2 separate regions of the Homo sapiens genome follow, and region 2 is linked to region 1. Evidence: promoter capture Hi-C in human tissues and cell types (Jung and others, 2019). All regions are on one chromosome and are shown on one strand. Each heading gives the region's core, a stretch centred on a gene start or on the middle of the fragment in contact. The rest is flanking DNA. Distances are from core to core; before and after follow the strand shown.

The links. The method cuts DNA at HindIII sites, captures the fragments that hold promoters and counts their contacts. A contact is called where the count stands out against the background at its distance.
Region 2: a contact is called between the fragment with the promoter of TUBG1 here and the fragment with the promoter of AARSD1 in region 1, in 2 of the 25 tissues and cell types used here (aorta and mesendoderm cells).

Annotation. Positions count from the first base shown.
Region 1 is chr17:42,961,338-42,965,703 of GRCh38, reverse strand. AARSD1 (alanyl-tRNA synthetase domain containing 1) reads left to right here and starts at 1,250. Exons shown (of 12, transcript NM_001261434.2): 1 at 1,250-1,302; 2 at 1,467-1,598; 3 at 4,353-4,366. The coding sequence starts at 1,264. PTGES3L-AARSD1 (PTGES3L-AARSD1 readthrough) reads left to right here. Exons shown (of 17, transcript NM_001136042.2): 7 at 1,467-1,598; 8 at 4,353-4,366. The HindIII fragment of the contact is 19,831 bases long and covers 1-4,366 here.
Region 2 is chr17:42,607,072-42,611,437 of GRCh38, reverse strand. TUBG1 (tubulin gamma 1) reads right to left here and starts at 1,755. Exons shown (of 11, transcript NM_001070.5): 1 at 1,652-1,755; 2 at 1,218-1,330; 3 at 848-1,015. The coding sequence starts at 1,700. It overlaps RETREG3 (reticulophagy regulator family member 3), which reads left to right and starts at 2,064. Exons shown (of 9, transcript NM_178126.4): 1 at 2,064-2,352. The coding sequence starts at 2,114. RefSeq lists an enhancer at 2,073-2,182. The HindIII fragment of the contact is 7,237 bases long and covers 1-4,069 here.

The sequences.
Region 1 (4,366 bases), core at 1-2,500:
GCCCAAACTATTTTAATGTAATGTAATGTAATTTTCTTGAGACGTAGTCTCGCTGGGTTACCCAGGCTGGAGTGCAGTGGTACGATTTCGGCTCACTGCAACCTCCTCCTCTCGGGTTAAAGTGATTCTCCTGCCTCAGCCTCCCGTGTAGCTGGGATTATATAGGCGTGTGCCACCACGCCTGGCTAATGTTTTTGTGTTTTTAGTAGAAACAGGGTTTCACCATGTTGGCCACGCTGGCCAAATTGTTCTTCTTTTTTTTTTTTTTTTTTTTTTTTGAGACGGAGTCTCGCTCTGTCGCCCAGGCTGGAGTGCAATGGTGCGATCTCGGCTCACTGCAAGCTCCGCCTCCCAGGTTCACGCCATTCTCCTGCCTCAGCCTCCGGAGTAGCTGGGACTACAGGCGTCCGCCACCACGCCCGGCTAATTTTTTGTATTTTTAGTAGAGACGGGATTTCACCGCGTTAGTCAGGATGGTCTCGATATCCTGACCTCGTGATCCGCCCGCCTCGGCCTCCCAAAGTGCTGGGATTACAGGCGTGAGTCACCGCGCTCGGCCTTTTTTTTTTTTTTTTTTTTTTTTTTTAATTGAGACGGAGTCTCGCTCTGTCGCCCAGGCTGGAGTGCAGTGGTGCAATCTCTGCTCACTGCAACCCCGCCTCCCGGGTTCCAGCGATTCTCCTGCCTCAGCCTCCCGGGTAGCTGGGATTACAGGCGCCCGCCACCACGCCCGGCTAATTTTTGTATTTTTAGTAGAGACGGAGTTTCGCTATGTTGGCCAGGCTGGTCTCGAACTCCTGGCCTGAGGTGATCCACCCGCCTCGACCTCCCAAAATGCTGGGATTACAGGCGTGAGCCACCTCCCCCAGCTCCTTGCTTTCTATTTCTACTGGGCAGTGCTGCTCAGTAACCATGCCAGTCCCGTCCCCGCCTCTATGCGCTGGGATTCCGCAGCCAGAATACTTACATCCCTGGGGCCCCAAGGGGCTCACTAAACCACGTGCCTTGTCCAGGTCGCGTTTTTTTGTTTTTGTTTGTTTGTTTTTTTCCTCCTGGTCTTGTCCTTTGTAAAGCCTTAGAACAGTCGTTAAACAACCCAGCAAATATGCAATTCGCGTTTTCAGTAAATTTATCCAAACCGCATTCCATTCCTTACCCTCCTGCTTCTGCGCAGACAAGCGCCCTTGATGACGTTTGTCCCACGTCGCTCTCCGTTCGCTCCCAGGCTTCTCTGCGCGTGCGCCTCCTCACACGCCTGCAGGTATGGCGTTCTGGTGTCAGCGTGACAGTTATGCCCGAGAGGTACGGCGTCACGGCGAGGCACTTGAGACTGCCGGGCCGGCAAGGCGGTTTGGGGAAGAGGGCGCCACGTGTAGGGAGTGCCAACATGGCATTCTGTCCTGGTGTGGAGAGGGCTAGGGCTAGGGCTGGGGTCGGGGCTTATTCTCTCATTCCTCTCTGTTCAGTTCACCACCACCGTGGTCTCCTGCTGTCCCGCGGAGCTGCAGACTGAAGGGAGCAACGGCAAGAAAGAAGTGCTGAGCGGTTTCCAAGTGGTGCTGGAAGACACAGTGCTTTTCCCTGAGGGCGGGGGACAGGTACCAAAACGATCTCTTCCCAGGAAGCCCCCAGTTTCTTTGTGCTCAGGCCGAAATGCTCTCCTGCCCCTTTTTTCTCAGCCATAATGAATTCAGATGAGCTTTAGTTTAATTCATTTTGTTATTCATTTAATGAGTATTTATCAGCAATTGCTTATCTAGACATAACATATGCTAGATATTATTCCAGGCTGTAAGGATAACCGGTGAACAACACAGTGCCTTTATATACGTGGAATGTTTATTGAAGACAACTGTGTGTGCTAGGTATAATAAGTAATAAACAAAAACCAAGTAAAGGGAAAGAGAGTGATGGGATGCTTGTCTAGATGAAGGGTAAGTTATTTCAGTAGAGACCTAAACGAAGTGAGGGGGTGAGTCTTTGCAATTATCTAGTGGTGCTGGGGGGCAGAGGGAGTATTCAGGCAGGTAGAATAGCAGGTGCAAAGGCCCCAAGGAAGGAATTAGCTTCGGGTTTTAGGGACTGAAAAAGATGTTCCTGAAGGAGTTCAGGTGAGATAGACGGGTTACAGTAGTACAGCAGAGAGCATATTTATCAGTGCTGTGATGAGGACTAGGTACAACATGAGCGCAAGTGAGGTACATTGTGAAGATGGAAGAGGAGGATAATAACACCAAAGGTGGGCATTATGAGAAAGGCTTTTCTTTCTTTTCTTTTCTTTCTTTCTTTCTTTTTTTTTTTGAGACAGAATCTCTCGCTGTCATCAGGCTGAAGTGCAGTGGCATGATCTCAGCTCTGCAACCTCCGCCTCCTGGGTTCAAGTGATTCTCCTGTCTCAGCCTCCCAAGTAGCCTGACCAACATGATGAAACCTTGTCTCTACTAAAAATATAAAAATTAACCAGGCATACTGGCAGGCCCCTGTAGTCCCAGCTACTCGGGAGGCTGAGGCATGAGAATCACTTGAACCGGGAGGCTGAAGTTGCAGTGAGCCAAGATTGTGCCACTGCACTTCAGCGTGGGGGACAGAACAAGACTCCGTCTCAAAAGAAAAAAAAAAGGTGTATTAAGGTGTGTGGGCAGCGAACCATGCAGGTTATTTTCTTTCTTTTTTATTTTTAAGAGACAGGATCTTGCTATGTCACCCAGGCTGGAGTGCAGTGGCCTGATCTAGCTCACTGCAGCCTCGAACTCCCAGGCTCAAGCAATCCTCCTGTTTTAGCCTCTCCAGTAGTGGGGACTACAGGCGCACAACCAACATGCTTGGCTGCTTTTTTGTAGAGATGAGGTCTCACTTTATTGCCCAGGCTGATCTTGAGCTCCTGGCCTCAAACAGTCCTCCCACCTTGGCCTCCCAAAGGCTGGGCCTACAGGTGTGAGCCACTGCCCTGGCCTCCACTCAGGTTCTTAAGCAAATAAGTGACATGAGAGAACATGTTCAGTAGACTTGGTATTGAGAGAGTTCCAATTTCATATCAGTCATTATTATGGTGATTTTCCCAGTATGAAGATTTCCCTGATCTGCTGAAGGAAAACCTGTGACCTCAAGTATCCATAGAAGGTCTCATTTTAGACAGCATTTCTTTCAGGAAGTCTTTTTTTGATTCCCCAAGACTGTTAGGTCTCTTTCCTTTGAGGTTCTCTAGCGTCATATACTTTTTCATATTATGGCATGTTATAGGTCATATTGCAATTGTCTGTTTTCCAGCCTCTGTTCTCTAGACTCTTAAGTTCCATGAGGTACCATATCTTGTTTACATTGTATTCTTGGGCTGGCACAGTCTTTTGTAAGCAGTTGGCACTTGAAATGTTTTAAAATGAATGAACTTTTTTTTTTTTTTTTTTTGAGATGGTGTCTTGCTCTGTTGCCAGGCTGGAGCGCAGCGGCGTGATCTCGGCTTACTGCAATCTCCGTCTGCCAGGTTCAAGCAATTCCCCTGCCTCAGTCTCCCGAGTAGCTAGGACTACAGGTGTGCACCACCATGCCCAGTTAATTTTTTGTATTTTAGTAGAGACGGGGTTTCACCATGTTGGCCAGGATGGTCTTGATCTCCTGACCTTGTGATCCGCCCACCTCGGCCTTCCAAAGTACTGGGATTACAGGTGTGAGCCACTGTACCTGGCCCTTTTTTTTTTTTAAATGAGACAGTGTCTCACTCTGTCACCCAGGCTGGAGTGTAGTGGAGCAATCATAGCACACTGCAGTCTCAACCTTTTGGGCTCAAGTGATTCTCCCACCTCAGCCTCCCAAGTAGCAGGGAGTATCATGGCCAGCTAATTTTTTATTTTTCATAGAGGTGGGGTCTCACTGTGTTGTCCAGTCTGATCTCAAGCGATCCTCCTGCCTTGGTCTCCCAAAGTGGTGGGATTACAGGAATAAGCTACCATGCCCAGCCTAAATGAACATTTTTGAATCTAATTCTAATACCACTGCAAGAGGATGGAGTGGAGGGAGGGAGGAAAAATCAGATCATTTTAGAGACTACAAAAGAATCTAGACTAAGGCAAGGAGAGTTGAGGATTAAGATTCTTCGGGTTTTACTAAAATTTTTGTTGCTGTAGTTACAATCTCTTTAATTCTGTTATTCTGAAGATCACAACACATAGGTGTTTAGAATGAAAAGGACTGAGAATCCTCTCATGGAACAAAGTGGACTCATTTCACTTGGCATTGCTTTCTCCCTCTCCCTTAGGGAGCCCAGATTCTGGGTCTCTCACCCTAGAGGGTCTTTGTACCTAGAAGTTAGGGTGAGCCCTGCCTTGCCATTGATTACGTTTACTTATTTCCACCAGCCTGATGACCGTGG
Region 2 (4,366 bases), core at 506-3,005, 350 kb after region 1:
GAATTCAAAATATTTCAGATTTTAGAAAGGTATTATGGTATATATACTATATATTAAATAAAATTCCAGTGGGAATTTTTATTTAATCAGAAGCACGTTAATCAAATATATTAGTATTTCTGTAATAAAAGGCATCACTAATGACAGTAAGTTGGATAGAAACTATAGGGCCGGGCATGGCGGTTCACGCCTGCAATCCCAGCACTTTGGGAGGCCGAGGCAGGTGGATCACGAGGTCAGGAGATCAAGACCACCCTGGCTAACACAGTAAAACCCCGTCTCTACTAAAAATACAAAAATTAGCCAGGCGTGATGGCAAGCACCTGTAATCCCAGCTACTCGGGAGGCTGAGGCAGGAGAATCGCTTGAACCCGGGCAGCAGAGGTTGCAGTGAGCTGAGAGCGTGCCACTGCACTCCAGCCTGGGCGACAGAGTGAGACTCCGTCTCAAAAAAAATAAATAAATAAAAATTAAAAAAAAGAAACTATAAAACAGCCTGTCTTCATTGAAATTTGTTTTTGCTGATAAACTAGTTATGAAATGTCCTTTGGTTTCATGGCTTTCTGGATCCTGGAAAGGCAGATAAGGGACTGTGGACCTGTAGTACTTACTTCTAGGGTTGTTGGGAGATTTAGAAAAATTAATATATGTAAAGCACTTAGAATGACCTGGCACACTGCATTAGCTAGTGTAGGCGCTTGACAATATTACATAGTCCACTCCCTGCAGCCAGGTCTCTCCCTCCAGCATTCATACATCCCTGATCCGGTTTTCCCTCTCTTCGGGACGTCATAGAGCCTGTCCCTACCCAGCGAGTTGTGGGCCCTGCCAGGGAATAGGAAACGACCTGGGAGAATCCGCTGGCCCAGTTGTTGCCAGCTCCTCCTCCATGTTCCGACAGGTAGATGTTCTCTGGGTTGTAGAGCTTGGCATAGGGGGAGTTGAGGATGGAGTGGATCACCCGGGGTTCCAAGTCCAGCAGCACGGCCCGGGGGATGTAGTGCTCATCGTCTGCCTGTCAAGGGGAGTCCAGGAGGGGGCCCAATCAGCTAGGGCGGCCCAAGTCCGAAGTCCTCCCAACTCTGGCTCCCTCCGGCCCTCCCTCCTCAAGCCAGCCGCCTGGCCCTACTGCCCAGCGGGGTTCCCAGTACCAGGCCACTCCCTTCCCTTCCGCCCCCTTGGGCAACTGCCGCCCCCGGCCAAGTCGCTGGGGGCACCTGGTAGAAAAAGACGTCCTTGCGGTCAGTGCCCTCGGTGGCGAACTCCTCCACGATGCCCTCGGGGCTGATACCATGCTCGGCGCACAGCTGTTTCCAGAACTCGAACCCAACTGGGGGGAAGGGGCGGGCAGGGGAGAAAGAAGATATCTAGGTCCGGGCAGGTTCCAATCAGGAGCCGGGGGACTGGGCGCCTGCGTCCAGGGATAAGAAGTCAAGCCGCAGGACTCTCCCGTGTCTGAGGAAAGGACTGTACGCCAGGGACTGGGCAGGGGAGGGCCCCTCGGGGTTGGGCAAGTGGACACTGGGTCAGGGATGTCTCGCCTTTCAGAGAACTACGATTCTGGCAAGGACAGATGGAGTCCAGGATCCCACAGCGAGATCCCATTGACCCTAAGGAACCTGGCTAGCTGAGGGGCCGGAGTTTCGCTCACTCTGATTGCCGCACTGGCCCAACTGTAGGGTGATGATTTCCCTCGGCATCGCTCCTCAGGCACCGGCGTTGCAGCCGCTCCCGCCCGCAACGGCGCCGCACGCCAGCCCGCTCGCCGCAAGACGCAGGCGCCAAACAACCAGCTCCACCCACGAACTTCCTCCGCTCCAATGAGAATCGAGTTCTGGCAATGAATGGCACGTCTTTAAGCACTGGCCTTCGTTCATGCAGATTGCGCGTGCGCGGCTCCGGATGCGGCTCGGCGCCTCCGGATCCGGCTCCGCGCCTCAGTGAGGGCGGGGTACGGCGTCCTCCCTCCCCTCTGGGTGGGCGCCTGCTTGGGCCTGCGCGCAAGCGCGCTGTGGTGCGAAGCCACCTCCCCCGCCGAATCGCGCATCTGCGCAGTTGCTGTTATTGTGACTTGTCGGGCCACGGCCCCGGATGTTGTGGCTGCCGCGGGGAGATGGCTGAGGCCGAAGGGGTTCCCACGACCCCAGGCCCGGCTTCGGGGTCGACTTTCAGGGGCCGCCGAGATGTGTCAGGCTCCTGGGAGCGGGACCAGCAGGTTGAGGCGGCGCAGCGGGCCCTGGTGGAGGTGCTGGGGCCTTACGAGCCTCTGCTGAGTCGGGTGCAGGCAGCCCTGGTGTGGGAGCGGCCAGCTAGGAGCGCTCTGTGGTGCCTGGGGCTGAACGCGGCTTTCTGGTGAGAGAACTGGACCCTCGGAAACCCTCCGAGTCCCGAATTCGTTGGTTCCTCTAGGGCTCTACTTCTCGCCTGCCCTGTTTTCTTCGCTGCACTGGCTCCTTCCTGTACTTGCCTAATTTTGCCTCACCTCCTTCCACTCCATCCCGCCTGCAGGCTTCGGCACCCTAGTTCTTCCCAGGGCCGTCCACCCATCTTCTCTGCCTTACCTGTGCCCGCACCCCCGCCCCGCACATCTGGCGGGAGCTTCTGGTAACATCTTGAGCCGCTCAAGAGTGAGCGAGGGCTCCTCTTTTGAGCCCGACAAAGCTGCGTCCCTTTAAAGCCATCACTTCCTTTCTCTTGTCTGCTCAAGTGCAAGTTCTAGATTGTTTCCAGAGGTTTTAGTAGTTTATTGTTGGAGTAGAGGCGTGAAGTCTTGCAAAGGTATCCATAGGTGTGATTATAAAACAAGCTTGAGCGATTCGCATGAATTAGCATGTTATATATCTAGGAAGGAAGTTTATGAAGTCTAAGCGTCAGTGTGAGCCCCCAAAGCTGAAAATTGAAAGAAAATTACAAGCTTTTAAAGAACAGTTAGGAAATGATGACGGAGATTACACGCGTGTCAAAGCCACCTGTGATTGTAACTCCTCCCTGTTCCAAGGAATTAGAGAGGCATCCTTAGCCATGGTTTATAGGCAAGGAAATTGATGTCTAATACTGTGTGTGAGTTTTCCTGAGCTGGAAAAGTAGCACTGTAAATATGCTTTATTTGTGTGTGTCATGCTCTGTGAAAATGGAACTGCTGCTTCTCTCAGTTGTCATCACCTGAAGTGGACCTAGGACTTCATAGGATCTACCAACCATAATTTTGGATTTATTTGTAATGGAGGAGGTTCCAAGGGAACTGACTTATAGGGGGCTTTCTGCTGCTGAATGGATTAAGACTATTCTGGATAAGCCTGAAACAACAAAATATGTGTGTTTTTTAATTGTGTTTTTGCTAAAAATAGCTTTCCCCTTAAAATTTGTTTTAAAATCAAAACATTTATTATCCTTTATCTGAAAGATTTTCAGTGAGCTGAAGCAGAACAAATAATTCCAAGTTCATTGACCCGAAAACAGTGTTCAGCTATTAAGCTAATCCTCTCCCAGTTTGAAAGAGACCCAGTTAAAGGTGTCACAGTAGTCTCTGGCATTTGTGGCTTCCAGAGCCTTTAGCAAACTCGATGGTAAACTTTTCCTACCACGTTCTTCATTTATTTTTGGTAGTGCTTTTTCCCTTTTTTTTTTTTTTAAGACAGAGTTTCACTCTTATTGCCCAGGCTGGAGTGCAATGGCGTGATCTCGGCTCACTGCAACCTCCGCCTCCCAGATTCAAGCATTTCTCCTGCCTCAGCCCCCCAAGTAGCTGGGATTACAGGCATGAACCACCACAACCGGCTAATTTTGTATTTTTTTAGTAGAGATGGGGTTTCTCCATGTTGGTCAGGCTGGTCTCGAACTCCCGAGGTCAGGTGATCTGCCTGCCTCGGCCTCCCAAAGTGCTGGGATTACAGGCGTGAGCCACTGCGCCTGGCCTTTTTTTTTTTTTTTTTTTTTTTGAGACAAGGTCTTGCTCTATCACCCAGGCTGGAGTGCAGTGGTATGATCTCGGCTCATTGCAACTTCCACTTCCTGGGCTCAAGCAATCTTCCCACCTCAGCCTCCACAATAGCTGGGACCAGAGGTGCACATCATCATGCTTGGCTAATTTTTTAAATTTTTTGTGGAGACAGGGTCTCACTATATTGCCCAGGCTGGTCTCGAACTCCTAGGCTCTGGTGATCCTCCTGCCTTGGGCTCCCAGAGTGCTGGGATTATAGGCATGAGCCACCGTGCCCAGCCAAGTGCTTCTTCCTTGACCCCTAGGTACTGATTCCCATTGCTCTCTGTAGAAATCTTCACTATAGCACCTCACTGAAGAGTGTTTTATCCAGTCAAAACATTTCCCACAGTGGTTTTGGTATCTCTAGCAAGAAGGCTGGGCCTC